Regions from separate parts of the Homo sapiens genome. Here region 1 is linked to region 2. The links are contacts of gene promoters, found by promoter capture Hi-C in human tissues and cell types (Jung and others, 2019). All regions are on one chromosome and are shown on one strand. The core of a region is centred on a gene start or on the middle of the fragment in contact, and the rest is flanking DNA. Distances in the headings are between cores, read along the strand shown.

The links. The method cuts DNA at HindIII sites, captures the fragments that hold promoters and counts their contacts. A contact is called where the count stands out against the background at its distance.
Region 1: a contact is called between a fragment that was not itself captured here and the fragment with the promoter of VASH1 in region 2, in 3 of the 25 tissues and cell types used here (H1 embryonic stem cells, lymphoblastoid cells and mesenchymal stem cells).

Annotation. Positions count from the first base shown.
Region 1 is chr14:76,679,163-76,686,823 of GRCh38, forward strand. No RefSeq gene overlaps it. Among named protein-coding and RNA genes, the nearest start is that of VASH1, 78 kb to the right of the region's middle. The HindIII fragment of the contact is 4,823 bases long and covers 837-5,659 here.
Region 2 is chr14:76,756,268-76,763,323 of GRCh38, forward strand. It overlaps VASH1 (vasohibin 1), which reads left to right and starts at 5,201. Exons shown (of 7, transcript NM_014909.5): 1 at 5,201-6,863. The coding sequence starts at 6,555. RefSeq lists silencers at 5,168-5,357, 5,458-5,727. The HindIII fragment of the contact is 11,814 bases long and covers 1,281-7,056 here.

The sequences.
Region 1 (7,661 bases), core at 1,998-4,497, 79 kb before region 2:
AGGTGGGTGGATCACTTGAGGTCAGGAGTTAGAGACCAGCCTGACCAACATGGTGAAACCCCATCTCTACTAAAAATATAAAATTAGCTGGGTGTGGTGGTGGAGGCCTGTAATCCTAATGTTAGAGGTGTTCGAACCACAGCGACTCCATCTTGAGTGAGGGCTAGGAAAATGAGACTGGGACTTGCTGGGCCGCATTCCCAGAAAGTTAGGTATTCCTAAACTCTAGATGCTTACAGTTAAAGGAACAAATTGATCATGTTTACTAAACAGACTCAGACTTGAGAGTATCCTAATATCCTGATACCTTGGGAACAAAGACATTCCTAATTTTGCTTTAAAGATAATATGATAATATCGATTCTTGCAAAATATTGTCATTAAGAAAATTAATCCTCTATCACAAACCCTTGTAGCAGAGCACATCTCCCCAGGATCTTTTTTATCCTATATATACAAGCATTGTACCTAGGGTGGACGTGTTCCTCCTCTTACTTTCGGGAATGCCCTACTCTAGCTGTTCTTTTCTCAGAGGTGTGTGAACCAGAGCAACTCCATCTTGAATAGGAGCTGGGTAAAATAAGGCTGAAACCTATTGGGCTGCATTCCCAGATGGGTAAGGCATTCTAAGTCACAGGATGAGATAGGAGGTCAACACAAAATAGAGGTCCATACAGACCTTGCTGATAATACAGTTTGCAGTAAAGGAGCCGGCCAAAACCCACCAAACCAAAATGGCCACGAGAGTGACCTCTGTATGTCCTCACTGCTACACTCCCATCAGCACCATGACAGTTTACAAACGCCATGGCAACATCAGGAAGTTACCTTGTATTGTCTAAAAAGCGGAGGCATGAACAATCCACCCCTTGTTTAGCATATCACCAAGAAATAATCATAAAAATGGGCAACCAGCAGCCCTCGGGGCTGCTCTGTCTATGGAGTAGCCATTCTTTTATTCCTTTACTTTCTTAATAAACTTGCTTTCACTTTGCACTGCAGACTCACCCTGAATTCTTTCTTGTGCGAGATCCAAGAACCCTTTCTTGGGATGTAGATTGGGACTCCTTTCCTGTAACACTTTCACCATTTTACTTTCTTAATAAACTCACTTTTGCTTTGCACTGTGGACTCGCCCTGAATTCTTTCTTGTGCGTGATTGAAGAACCCTCTCTTGTGGTCTGGATTGAGACCCCTTTCCTGTAATATCAGCTATTCCGGAGGCTGAGGCACGACAATCTCCTGAACCTGGGAGGCAGAGGCTGCAGTAAGCTGAAACCGCACCACTGCACTCCATCTTGGGTAACAGAGGGAAACTCCATCTCAAAAAAAAAAAACAAAAACCAAGATTTGGAAAATTACTAGACTGTAATATAAGACAAATCTGAAAAGAAAATAAGCTGTGTATATGCATGTGCATGAGGATATGTATGGTTTACTACTTTTCAGCAACAATTAATCCCCTCATCACCCTAAAAGAAATCTTTATTAGCACATACTATTAACCAGACCATGTGCTAAGTGCCAAGGATACTAAGATAGATAAGAAAATTGTTAGACATGAGTTCTAAATTTCTCTTCAAAGAATCAATGTCAGTATGTTCAATTCTTTGCCTTCTACTTTTAAACTTAACTTCCTCGTAAAGCAACCTTTTCAATCACCTGCTCCACCCTGACTCATTCTGATTACCTGCTCATTCTCCACCCTGACTCATTCCGATTTCCTGCTCTGCCATAATCATTTTTCCTGCCAAACCACTCACCCCGTCACTCTCTTTAAATTAGCCAATCGAAATTAGTTTAGCCTATGCGGTCTAACCCTAACCAACAGGGGAATGACACAGCAGCAGGGGCCACGTGTGTCAGGAATAAGACCCCCCTTCCCCTCCCTTGTTCGGGTGTGCACTCACCACTGCTCCATCTGTGAGGGCACACCCTTCTATAGAAGTAATTTGCCTTGCTGAGAAGAAAAAAAGAAAATTTTATATTCAAGTGCTATTTCTTTTGCAGCACCAAAACTTTATTTATAACAAAAGCAATTCTTGTCTTCAAGGATCTCGCCATTTAGGTGGGAACACCAACAAATATACAGTGATGGATAATTTGCTACAAGTTTTAAAAGAGGTGAATCTGTGGGAACATAAATAAAAGGCGTACCCACCTGTTCCTATGGAAAGTCAGTTTTGTGAAAGCTTCATAGGGGAAATGTCCCATAGACTAAATATTTCTTAAAACTTTTAAATTATGCAATGTATCATACAGAAAATAATATAAATGATGTATACGTACCATTTAAAAATAGTAAACACCTGTGAACCCACCACCCAGCCTAAGAAATAGAACAGCTTCCACATCTTTGAAGTACCTCTCTGACCTCAAATGTTTTGTTTTTCATTCGTTTTTACTTTTAATTTTCTTCCTGTATATGTGTCACTAAGCTATTAATACATACTTTTTTGGTTTGTCTGGTTTTGAATTTTATGTAAATGGGACAATACAGTATTATTATTCTAAGACATGATTTTTTTACTTGACCATATGTTTTTGAGAATGATCTCTGTTCATATACACAGTTACAGTTTATTAGTTTTTAGTGGTATGTAGTTTTCTGTTGTATGAACATATCCTAACGTATAGAGCTATTTTACCATTGATAACTATTCCATTCTTTTCCATTTTTGTTATTATAAACTAAGACACAATGAAAATTCTTCTATAAGACTCCTGGTAAATATGTCTCCTGCAAGAGGAACTCTTGGATTGTTGCTGAATGCAATTGGCTTGAATATTGATTTTGTGTCCATTAACTGTGCTAAATACTCTTATTAATTCTAAATTTGTATCTGTAAAAAGTTTGGTATTTTTTATAGACATCTGTATCATTTGAAAATGGTGGTAACTTTTTTTCAAATTTTATATACATGTTTTTCTTATCTTACCACAATTATTAAGACTTCTAATATGATATTGTATGTAAGTGATGGTAACTAACATTTACATCTAATTCCTGACCTTAAACAGAATGCTTTCAACATTTTACCACTAAGTATGCTTTGTACTTTTCTGAAAATATATAATTAATTTCCCTCTGTTAGGTTAAAGATGATTCCTTCTATCCATCATTTGCTAAAAGTTTTTTATCATGATCTAATTTTTAATATTGCCAACAGTTCTTCACTTAAAAAAATTGTATGTTTATTCCACCTTTAATCTGTTACTATAATGCATTACCTTATTCAGTGGTCTAACATTAAACCAACTTTGCATTCTTACGATAAGCCTAACTGGTCATTATCTGTGTTAATGCATATAGCTAGAATTAGTTTGTATTAAAGTATAGTATTTCAAATTGTCTCAAAGCCTTTTAGTCCTAGCCAGCAGTGCTTTTGCCAATGCAGTTCTCATAAAGACTTTGTGGGTTTCCAGTTTATCTGATTCTGGTCAGCTTCACGCCATAGAGCCACATTTAAAATTCTTTCCTAGATAGCCTCTTGCTAATTTTGGCAAACTAAATCCCTTTTATCTAGTAGAGAGGATCTACTAGGAGCCACCATAAATCTTATCAAGGTCTTATCTAAGGATCCCACAGTTACGCTCTTAATTCTTTACCCTGAGGCCATTACTTACTTTGAAAATAATTTACTGGCTTGAAACACCAGAATTAAGAAGTAGTTTTGGTTTTCAACCCATTACTTTATGACTTCTCTATAGCTACTCTTGTCGCAAACTGAACAATTCTTTCTATAGCTGATCTCTCTCTTCCCATACCTTATCACAGGCAGCTAAAACATTCTAAAACACTTTCAACATTCTTCCGGGAATCACCTTGCCAATGTCCAAGTTTATTAGATTTATTTTCTATTATACAGTTACCATGGGCAACAACAGCTTTGTCAAATGTTACTACTATTCAACACAGATCCTCAATTTCCCAGCCTTCTAGAGCAGTTTCCTCATTACATTCCAGCCTCCACAACTGTTTATTTGCAAATTTTCCAAGCTTTGGAAATAGTTCCCTTGCTGCTTTTCTATCCTCTGTCACTCAGTCCTAAAGACAATGGCTCATGTTTCAGGTTTTTAGTTCAGCAGCACCCCACTTATAGGTGTCAATTTCTCCATCAATCAGCTCATGTTGTATAACAAACCACCTCAAAATTTAGTGGCTTAAAACAACAATCATTTGTTCAGCTCAGAATTTTGTGGATCCATAATCTGGGCTGTATTTAGCCAATAGGTTCATCTGCTGGTGTGGGCTGGGCTCACTCATGCTTCTACAGCCAGCTGCTGGTCAGCTGGATGGCTTGTTTCCAATGCTTACCTGGCTGGCCCTTTGGGCATAGAGACAATTGAGCCCTACATCTATCATTGAAAGACAAGCCAACACAGGCTTCTTCACATGGCAGCCATGGCAAGGGTCTCTAGAACAATAAGAGAGAAAGACTGAATGCACAGGTGCCGTTCACATTTCTGCTTATGTCTTATTTGCTAATGTCCTACTGACAATAAGGATTACAACATGCTTTCTTGATTCATCCCTTTTCTCTCTGTCCATTTATTTTCCTTTTTTCAGCTTTAGAGGTATGATTGACAAAAATTGTATATATTTAAGTAAAATGTTAGTATTAATTATAGTCACTATGCTATATGTTAGGTATCTAGAACTAATTCATCTTATAACTGCAAATTTGCATCTTTTGACCAGCATTTCCCATTTCCCCCACCTCTTTCCTGGAAACCATCATTGTACTCTGTGTCTCTGAGTTCTACTTTTTTATGTATAAGTGAAATCATGCAACGTTTGTCTTCCTGTGCCTAGCTTATTTCATCTAAATGTGATATATTTCATTTAAAATGTGATATATATATGTATATATGTACATGTATATACATATATATATCACATTTTAAAAATCCATTCATCCCTTGATGGATACTTGGTTTGTTTCCATATCTTGGCTATTATAAATAATGCTGCAGTGAACATAGGAGTGCAAATATTTCTTTGATATAGTGATTTTATTTTCCATGAATATATATCCAGAGGTAGAAATACTAGATCATATGATAATTATATTGTTAACTTTTTGAGGAACCTCTGTACTGTTTTCCATATGACTGTACCAATTTACATTCTCACAAGAATGGAGAAGGGTTCCCTTTCCTCCACATCCTCACCAACATTTGTTATCCTTTGACTTTTTAATAGTAGCCATCCTAACAAGTTTGAGGCAGTATCTCCTTGTGGTTTTGATTTGTATTTCCCTGATAATTAGAGACACTGACCACCTTTTTTATGTATCTGTTAGCCATCTGTATGTCATTTTCAGAAAAATATCAAATTGCCCATTTTTTTTAATTTTTCCTTTTTTTTTTTTTTTTTTGAGACAGGGTCTCACTCTGTCACCCAGGCTGAAGTGCAGTGATCCTTCCACCTAAGCCTCCCAAGTAGCTGGGACCACAGGTGTGCACCACTATGCCCAGCTAATTTTTGTGTTTTTGTGGAAACGGGTTTTCACCATGTTTCCCAGGCTGGTCTTTGCCCATTTTAAAATGCAGTTATTTGAGGGTTTTTTCTACTGAGTTGAATAAGTTCTTTATATGTTTTGGATATTAATCCCTTTGCAAATATTTTCTCCCATTATGTGAGCTGTCATGTCACTTCGCTGACTGGTTCTTTTGCTGTGTAGAAACTTTTAGTTCAATGTAGTCCCATTTGTTTATTTTTGTTTTTATTGCCTGCTTTTGGTATCTTATCCAAAAATCATTGCCAAGACCACTGGAGATTTTCTCCTATGTTTTCTTTTAAGGATCTTATATTTTTAGGTCTTAAGTCTATACCTTTAATCTATTTATAGTTGATTTTTGGTGTATGGTGTGAGATAAGGATCTGATTCCATTGTTTTTGGTTTGTTTGGTTTGATTTCTCAAGTGGATATCCAGTTTCCCCAAAGCCATGTATTGAAGAGACTATCCTCTCTCCATTATATATTCTTGCTACCTTTGTCAAAGATTAGTTGATCACATATGCATGTGTTTATTCCTGAACTTTCTATCCTGTTCCATTGATCTATGTGTCTGTTTTTATGCCAGTGCCAAACTGTTTGATTGCTATAGCTTTGCAATATGATTTGAAATCAGAAAGTGTGAAGCCTCCAGCTTTGTTTCTGCTCAAGATTACTTTGGCTATTTGGTGTCTTCTGTGGTTTCATACCAATTTTAAGATTATTTTTTCTATTTCTGTAAAAAAAATGCCATTGGAATTTTGATGAGATTGCATTGAATCTGTACATCACCTCAGTAGTATGAACATTTTGACAATATTGATTCTCCTATGAATTTGTCTGTTATTATTAACTGTTATATTTGTCTCTTCTTGGATAAATGCAAGAACCTCAGAACCTTTTAAATCCATTCCCCCTCCTGATTTATAGGCCATTGTTGTAATATATTTTAATTCCATGTATATTTCAAAATGAGTTAAGTTCTATTATTATGATGTCAATATTTATTTAGATTTACCCACTAGTTATCATTTTCATTGTTCTTTATTCCTTCTGACATCTCAGCTTCTTCTGAAAAAATACCTTTTGCTTTGTTTCAGGTTTTGTGGTAACACATTCTCTGAAGTTTATTTGTTTGTTCTTTAAGTTTTACTGAGCTATAGTTGACTTATAATAAACTGCTAATATGTGGGGGGAGGGGGGAAGGATAGCATTAGGAGTTATACCTAATGCGAAATGATGAGTTAATGGGTGCAGCACACCAACATGGCACATGTACACATATGTAACAAACCTGCATGTTGTGCACATGTACCCTAGAACTTAAAGTGTAATAATAAAATTTAAAAAAAACACATAAAGAGAAAAAAATGAATACTGTTTCACAAATTAAAAAAAAAAATTATAACCTTAACTTGATTTTACCCTAATGCCATACTATATATTCGTATATATAGCACAAGCTAACTGCACCTAAAATATAGGAAGAGTAATATCTAAACTGTTACATGACAAATAAATTTCATTTGTTTACCTAGGTTCCTGTTTGAGAATAATCTATTTTTGCAGAACTGTTGAGGAAGACCAGGCACACTTATATAAAATAGAAAGATTCTTCATTTGGGAGAAAATATGTTTTATCTTTTACTTCTTCAATAAAATTTGTAAAAGACCAGATATTAAATTACTATCTTTCATAAAAAGACAAAAAAAATAAACTGCTAATATGTAAAGAGTTTGATATGTTTTGACACATGTACACATCTGAGAACCTATCACTGCAATCAAGATAATCAACATAGTCATCACCTCCAAAGCTTCCTCATACCCCTTTGTGATCTTTTTCTCCTTTTATTGCTGAGTAGTAGTCTATCATAAATATGCCCCAGGTTTTTTTATCCACTCACACTTGTTTGTGGCCATTTGAATTTTTTCCAATTTTAAGCTATTATAAACAAAGCAGCAGTGAACATTTATGTGCAAATTTTTGAATGCACATAGGCTTTCATTTCCCTTGAATAAATATCTAGGAGGGAAATGGGGCTGGATTATATTCTATGTGTATGTGTAAAGTTTTAGAAACTGCACAGCTGCTTTCCAAAGTGGTTGTACCATTTTACATTCCTTACAAGGTCTGAGAGTTCCAGTTGCTCCACATTC
Region 2 (7,056 bases), core at 3,951-6,450:
AGCTGTGCCACCCTGAACAAATTACAATCCTCAATGGCTCTGAATCTCAGTTTGCCCACTTGTAAACTGATGTCAGCAATACCTACCCTGCGAGATTGACCTGGGAATTAAATGAAACTCTGCAGGTAAAGCACCGGACCTACACTCGGGGCTCAGTGAAGAGGAGCTATTTTTATAGACTTTCACTCACTTGGCTGAGTAATTCAGTTCCAGAAACAAAACGGACAGTTTGAGAAAGCAGTGATTTAAAATGAATCCCAAGCCAGAGGTCCTTTTGGCACTTTACCTGAAGTGAACTGGATTCTGTTTGGATTAAGGAAAAACAGACTTGTTCTCTAAGAATTTAGCAGTCAATTCAGACAGATGCCAAATCCATGAAAAACTCTCTGATTTTGTCACGCAAACCCCAGAGCGGAAGTCAGACCCAGGCAGATTCAGGTTTTCAGGTGACCTGAAGCAAATCGTTTCACTGGCCAGTCTAGATCTCAGTGGTTCCAAGCCCAGCTACCATTCGCATTACCTGGAGATCTTTTCTAGACTATGGGTACCAAGCCCCACTCCAAACCAGTTTCATCAGGATTTCTGCAGGGTGCAGACTGAGGATCAAGAATTTTAAGAGCCCCTGGGGTGATCCTAATGTAAGCTCCACTGGACCAGAAGTGCTCCAAGATCCTCGCCAGGTATCCCTGGTGCCTACAACCATGTATGATTCAGAGTAGATATTTAGTATATGTTTATTGAGTAAATGAATGAAGATTCTGACTCAACTTTTTGCTGTTTTCATGTTCATAATTTATGAGGTAAAAGAAGAAAAGAAAAGGAGTTTAATCCCAAGAAAGAATCACAGAGCAGAGCTGTCCAATAGAAATTTCTGCAATGGGCCAGGCGCAGTGGCTCACGCCTGTAATCCCAGCACTTTGGGAGGTTGAGGGGGGTGAATCACGAGGTCAGGAGTTCAAGACCAGCCTGGCCAATATGGTAAAATCCTGTCTGTACTAAAAATTACAAAAAATTAGCTGGGCACAGTGGCAAGCGCCTGTAATCCCAGCTACTGGGGAGGCTGAGGCAGGAGAATTGCTTGAACTCAAGCGGCAGGGGTTGCAGTGAGCCGAGATTGCATCACTGCACCACAGCCTAGGCGACAGGGTGAGACTCCATCTCAAAAAAAAAAAAAAAGAAAAGAAAAAGAAAAGAAATTTCTGCAGTGATGGACATGTTCTATAATCTGTACTATTCATTACAGTATCTATGAGCCATAATGGCTACTGAGTACTTGAAATATGGCTAGCGTGATTGGAGAAACTGAACTTTTAATTCTATTTAATGTTAATTAAATTCAAATTTAAATAGACACATATGACTTCTGGCTACCATACTGAACTTCTGGCTACCATTGCAGAAATTTCTTTTCTTTTTTTTTTTGAGATGGAGTCTCACCCTATCACCTAGGCTGTGGTGCAGTGATGCAATCTCGGCTCACTGCAACCCCTGCCACTTGAGTTCAAGCAATTCTCCTGCCTCAGCCTCCCCAGTAGCTGGGATTACAGGTGCTTGCCACTGCGCCCAGCTATTTTTTTGTAGTTTTTAGTACAGACAGGATTTTGCCATATTGGCCAGGCTGGTCTTGAACTCCTGACCTCGTGATTCACCCCCCTCAGCCTCCCAAAGTGCTGGGATTACAGGCATGAGCCACTGCGCCTGGCCCATTGCAGAAATTTCTATTGGACAGTTCTGCTCTGTGATTCTTTCTTGGGATTAAACTCCTTTTCTTTTCTTCTTTTACCTCATAAATTATGAACATGAAAACAGCAAAAAGTTGAGTCAGAACATCTACCTTTTATAAACACATCTATACCTGTGTGCCTCCATGCCCCTCTTTTACTAACAGCACCCCATTTACCTTTAGGGCAGTCCTTCTCCCCCAACCACCTGTAGTCTTGGCTAATGAAATTGCCCCATCCTCCTCTAGCCAAGGATCCAAGCTAAGTCAACAGACTCTTCTCTCTGGAAATTTCACTCTAGCTTCTGTGTCACAAGAATAGAAAATGTGTCAGAGCAGATTAATATGAGTGTTGATGCCCTAAGACAACATGCGTTCATTTGCAGACCATTAGTCCAGAGTGTGACGATAACAAATGTGACACATGATATGAGTTAGGCGTCATTATCGTCATCCTTGTCATCATGAAAGTGACTTGTACCCAGCAGCTCAGATGTGCCTGCTCCTGTACTAGGTATGTAATTTGCCTAGCTTCTCTTATGCATCCTTTCTTCATCTGTAAAATGGAAATCATACTCATCCTAACTCTTCCACGGTTTTTGTGAAGACAGCAAAAGGAATAATTGTCATGAGGGCCGGGCGCGGTGGCTCACGCCTGTAAGCCCAGCAATTTGGGAGGCCGAAGCAGACAGATCACTTGAGGTCAGGAGTTGGAGACCAGCCTGGCCAACATGGTGAAACCCCATCTCTACTAAAAATACAAAAATTAGACAGACATGGTGGCAGGCACCTATAATTCCAGCTACTCAGGAAACTGAGGCAGAGAATCACTTGAACCTGGGAGGCAGAGGCTGCAGTGAGCAGAGATCGAGCCACTGCACTCCAGCCTGGGTGACAGACCGAGACTCTGTCTCAGGGGAAAAAAAAAAAAAAGAAAAAAAAGAAAAATAACGGTCACGAAAGCTTTGAGCCAAATAAGGAGTTACCCAAGTGTCTGTTGGAGGAGTTGTTCCCAAGGCATAGGTGTGGGGAGTCATGGGAGGGCTTGATGAAGGACCCAGGATCTGAGACCAATTCAAAAGTTGTGCCATACCAGGTTAAGTCACTTGTTCTCTCTGGGCTTTTGGCTTAGATAAGACTGGGTTATACACATCTCTTTCCAGTTTCACCATTTTCTAATCTATTTGCAAGCCCCCTTGCCTGACACATACCCTCTTCCACTTCTATGCACACATGCCAGAAAATTCTCTAGCCTAGTCCATGCTGACCTTGTACCCAACTCATTTCTTCTTTTCCCAGCTCCTCACCTGATTGGGAAGTTGCTCTGGGTATGCACTCCCACAGCTTCCTGAATAACCCTCTGGCAGAGCACCTTATGGAAATCATGCTTAACTATCTCCTCCACTAGTAGGCCATAAGTCCAACTAGAGCAAAGGCCATGTCCCTCTTGTTCACTACTGCTTCTCCAGTGCCCAGTACAGAGTCAAACACATAGAAGATGTTCTATGAGTACTTACTCTTTGAATGAATACCCTACATCTATTTTATTTGTCATTTCAGAAAACACATGGTATTATCTCATGCTGCGTAACAAGTTAGTCCAAAACTTAGCAGCTTAAAACGAGAATAGTCACTTATCCTCTCTCAATTTCTGTGGGACAGAAAGTCAGACAGGGCACAGCAGGGCTGGTTGTTCTCTGCTCCATGTCTGGGACCTCAACTCTAAGACTTAAAGGCCGAGGGCTGGCAAGACCTGAAGTCTCGGTTTGCCATGATCTGGTGATTGACTCTGGCTGTTGGCTGAGAGCCCAGCAGCAGCTGTCAGCGAGAACACCCTCATGTGGCCTCACCATGTGGCTTGGGCTTCTTCACAACATGGTAGCTGGTTTCTTCTGAGGAACCAAGAAGAAGCTGTCTCCTTTTTATGGCCTGGTCTTAAGAGTCATACAGCTTCACTTTCATCACACTTTATTCATTAGACACCAGTCACCAAGTACATCCCACATTCAGGGGGAAAGGAATTAGATCCCATCTTTTGAAAAGAATGGTCAAGAGCTTGCAAGCCAATTTTAAAACCAGCACCACTTGGCTAACACAAGAAGCAATGTATAGAGTGAAAAACAAGTGTCTGAAGAAGTAAGACTTCTGTTCACATTCTAGCTCTGCCACTTACTAGCTGTGTGAGTTTGGGGAAATTACCCTCTGAGACTTGGTTTATACAATACAGGGTGATAGTTGTTGATCCCTAGTGATTTTTCTACGCTTGGAGTCTTCTTGCCTTAGTGAGTTTAAGAAGATCCAGGCTGAACTAACTTTCTTGGAGTCTTGCAATCCTTCCCATCACTGATAACCCTTGGTTTCTGACCCTGGAGGTAGTAAGAGGTTGCTACGGGAGCACAGGGTACCCAGAAAGTTCAGATACTAGGGACAGCTTTAGAGAACAGATGTGAAACCACTGAGGCCCTGGGGTCTCTCTAAGGCCTTTAACCCAGCCCTTGTGTAGTAACCTCAGCTTGTCAAGAAATGCAACGACCCCACAACTAAGGAATCTGAATCTGCCGGCTAAGGCCAAGGAATCTGCATTCTCCCACAAGACTGTGATTCATGCTAACTACAGGCAGGGGAGAGGGGGAGCATCTTAAAGCACACACTCGGCCGTCTCTTCCTAAAGTTCTTGGCTTCAGCCTAGAGATAGTGCCTTTCCCACCATTTACAACTCTATGGCATGAGGGAGGCGGAGGGTGCGTCCAGTGTCCAACCACGCACCACAGCTGGTTGTACTTTCACCTTCCTCTAGGCCAGCGGACCCTCCCCAAGCATTGCCTCCCACGCCCACGTCGCGGTCCCACCCTGGTCCGCGGGGTCCAGAGCGTCCAAAGCCCGGTCTAGGCAGATGGTCTAGGGGTGAGCTCTGCGCACCCCATTCCCACCAGTGCAGGCAATCGAATAAAACAGGGTGACTTTTAACCCTTTTCGTTTCCAGAGATAGTGACCCCCCGTCTCAATCCCTAGATGTCCTCCTCTAAGAACTGTGCGCGCTGGGAGGGACTCTGCGCTCACTCACTGTGACCACCTCGGCTGGGATATGGGGAAACTGAGGCCTACAGAGGGAAGGGAACTGCTGAACGTCCCAAAGCAACACAGGCACTGAATCCGGTCTAGAATCCCAGTCTTCCAGGCCAGTGCTCTCGGTCCTACCGGCTCAGGGCCCCTGCGAAGAATCTTTTTCAAGAAATTCCCGACCGCAGGAATTCCTTCTGCGCTAGGAATCTCCATGGAGTTTGCGCTCCCTCTGGCACGTTGAAAACGTCCTCCGCAGCTTCGCACCGGCTTCGCGGCGCCCTGACAGCTGGGTGAGGAGGGAGCGAATGCCCACCGGCGTCCTTGGGGTAACTTGGGACAGAGGCACCGCCGCGGGGGGCGGAGGACTGGGCGCGAAGGCGCTGGCCCTTTAAGGGGGGGACGGAGCGCATGCGCGGCGCGGGCCGTAGTCGAGCCTGGTGGGCGGCTGGCTGGCAGGGGACGTGGTCGGCGGCAGCGGGGCCCAGGGGCGGCGGGGCTGCAGCAGCGGCGGCCCCAGCTTCGCCGAGCAGCGATCGGCTGGTGGGCTTCTCGTTGGCGGGCTCCGCGTTGGCGGGCTGCTCCCCAGGCACCAGCGCAGCGCGCGCTCGCCCGGCTTCGTCACTCGCCTCCAGCTACATCCGCCGGCCGAGGCTGCGCGAGCCTCCGGGCTTGCGGTCCCCGCCCCGCGGTCCTTCCTCCACCCTCAGCCAGGGCAGCTGCAGCCCGAGCGAACAGCCACGGAGCATCCTCCGCCCGCCCGGGCCGCGCCACCGCCCATGCTGCAGCCAGTCCCAGGCAGCGACCCCGCGGCCGCAGCCCGCCGCTCAGTGACCTCAGCCTGGCCCCTGCGCGCCGCCCGAGCCGGTCCCGCTGAGCCGCGGGCCCCGTGCCCTGCGATGGCTCGGCTGGTGCAGCGCGGCGCCAGGTGCCAGCCGTCCTCCCGCTGAGACGCGCCCGAGTGGGGACCCGCTGGGCCTCGGGGCTCGCAGCCTTCGCCTCCCCGCCGCGCCCGCTCCCTTTCTGGGGACTCCGCCGCTGTTTCTGGGGACGAGGGGACAGGGGACCCAGACAAAGCCCACTTTGTGCAGGGAGTTGGCCGCAGGCGGGGAATGTGCGCGTCGGCGCGCGCCCCCTCCCCGCTCCCGGCCAGCTGCGAGTCTTGGCTCCCGGACTTGTCTCGTCGCGTCGGAGAAATCGCCCCCCAGCGCCGCTCTCCCGCCCGGGGGTCTTGGTTCCGAGCTCGCGCGGCCGGGAGTCGCCTCGGTCTTCCTTGGGGCGCGCGCAGATGTGAGCGTGCGAGAGTTGTGTAGGGGATTTTGTTCCCTCCGAAACTGAGACCCAGGGCGCCCAGTGGGCACCCGTGCCTTGACTCTGTCCTTTCTGCAGCCGCTGGTCCGAGCTGTCTGGCCTCAGTTTCCCTCCGACTTTTCTCCGCTCTGCCAGCCCTCACTGCTGCCCGTCATTGTTCTCGCAGTTAGATGGGGGTGCTTTGTGACGGCTGCCAAGTTGGGGTGTGTTCTCTTTATTCCGTTTTTCAAACAGAACAAGGCCTCCAAGGCTGACCCCAGACAACCCACCCCCTCGGACCCTAATTCACCTTATTGCACTGATTTTTTTTATCAAGTCGTATTTTATTGTACAGGAGCCACGCCCTGATTTCTTAAAGGCGCCTTGCACTCTGGCCATGTGTTATCTCTGCAGCCGGTGTGTGGGAGGCCTCTTGTGAGCCAGTTGTTTTCCCGCCTCCACCACCCCCCTCGAAGATTTAGGGATGCCAGGGGGGAAGAAGGTGGCTGGGGGTGGCAGCAGCGGTGCCACTCCAACGTCCGCTGCGGCCACCGCCCCCTCTGGGGTCAGGCGTTTGGAGACCAGCGAAGGAACCTCAGCCCAGAGAGATGAGGAGCCAGAAGAGGAAGGGGAAGAGGACCTGCGAGACGGAGGCGTCCCCTTCTTTGTCAACCGGGGTGGGCTACCTGTGGATGAGGCCACCTGGGAAAGGATGTGGAAACACGTGGCCAAGATCCACCCCGATGGAGAGAAGGTGGCGCAACGGATCCGTGGGGCCACAGACCTGCCCAAGGTGAGACACACGGGTCAGGGGGGTGATAGCACAGTCTAGGTTTTAGTGACCTTGGGGCCAAGAGTGAAGCCACACTCTCCTCCCACGGGGCAGGGGACCACTGGCTCGGTAAGATCTTTAAAATGCAGTGATATCATACCTGTCTAGGAGAACTTTCTCTCACTGCCATTCTAGGAGGGAGGCTCACATACAT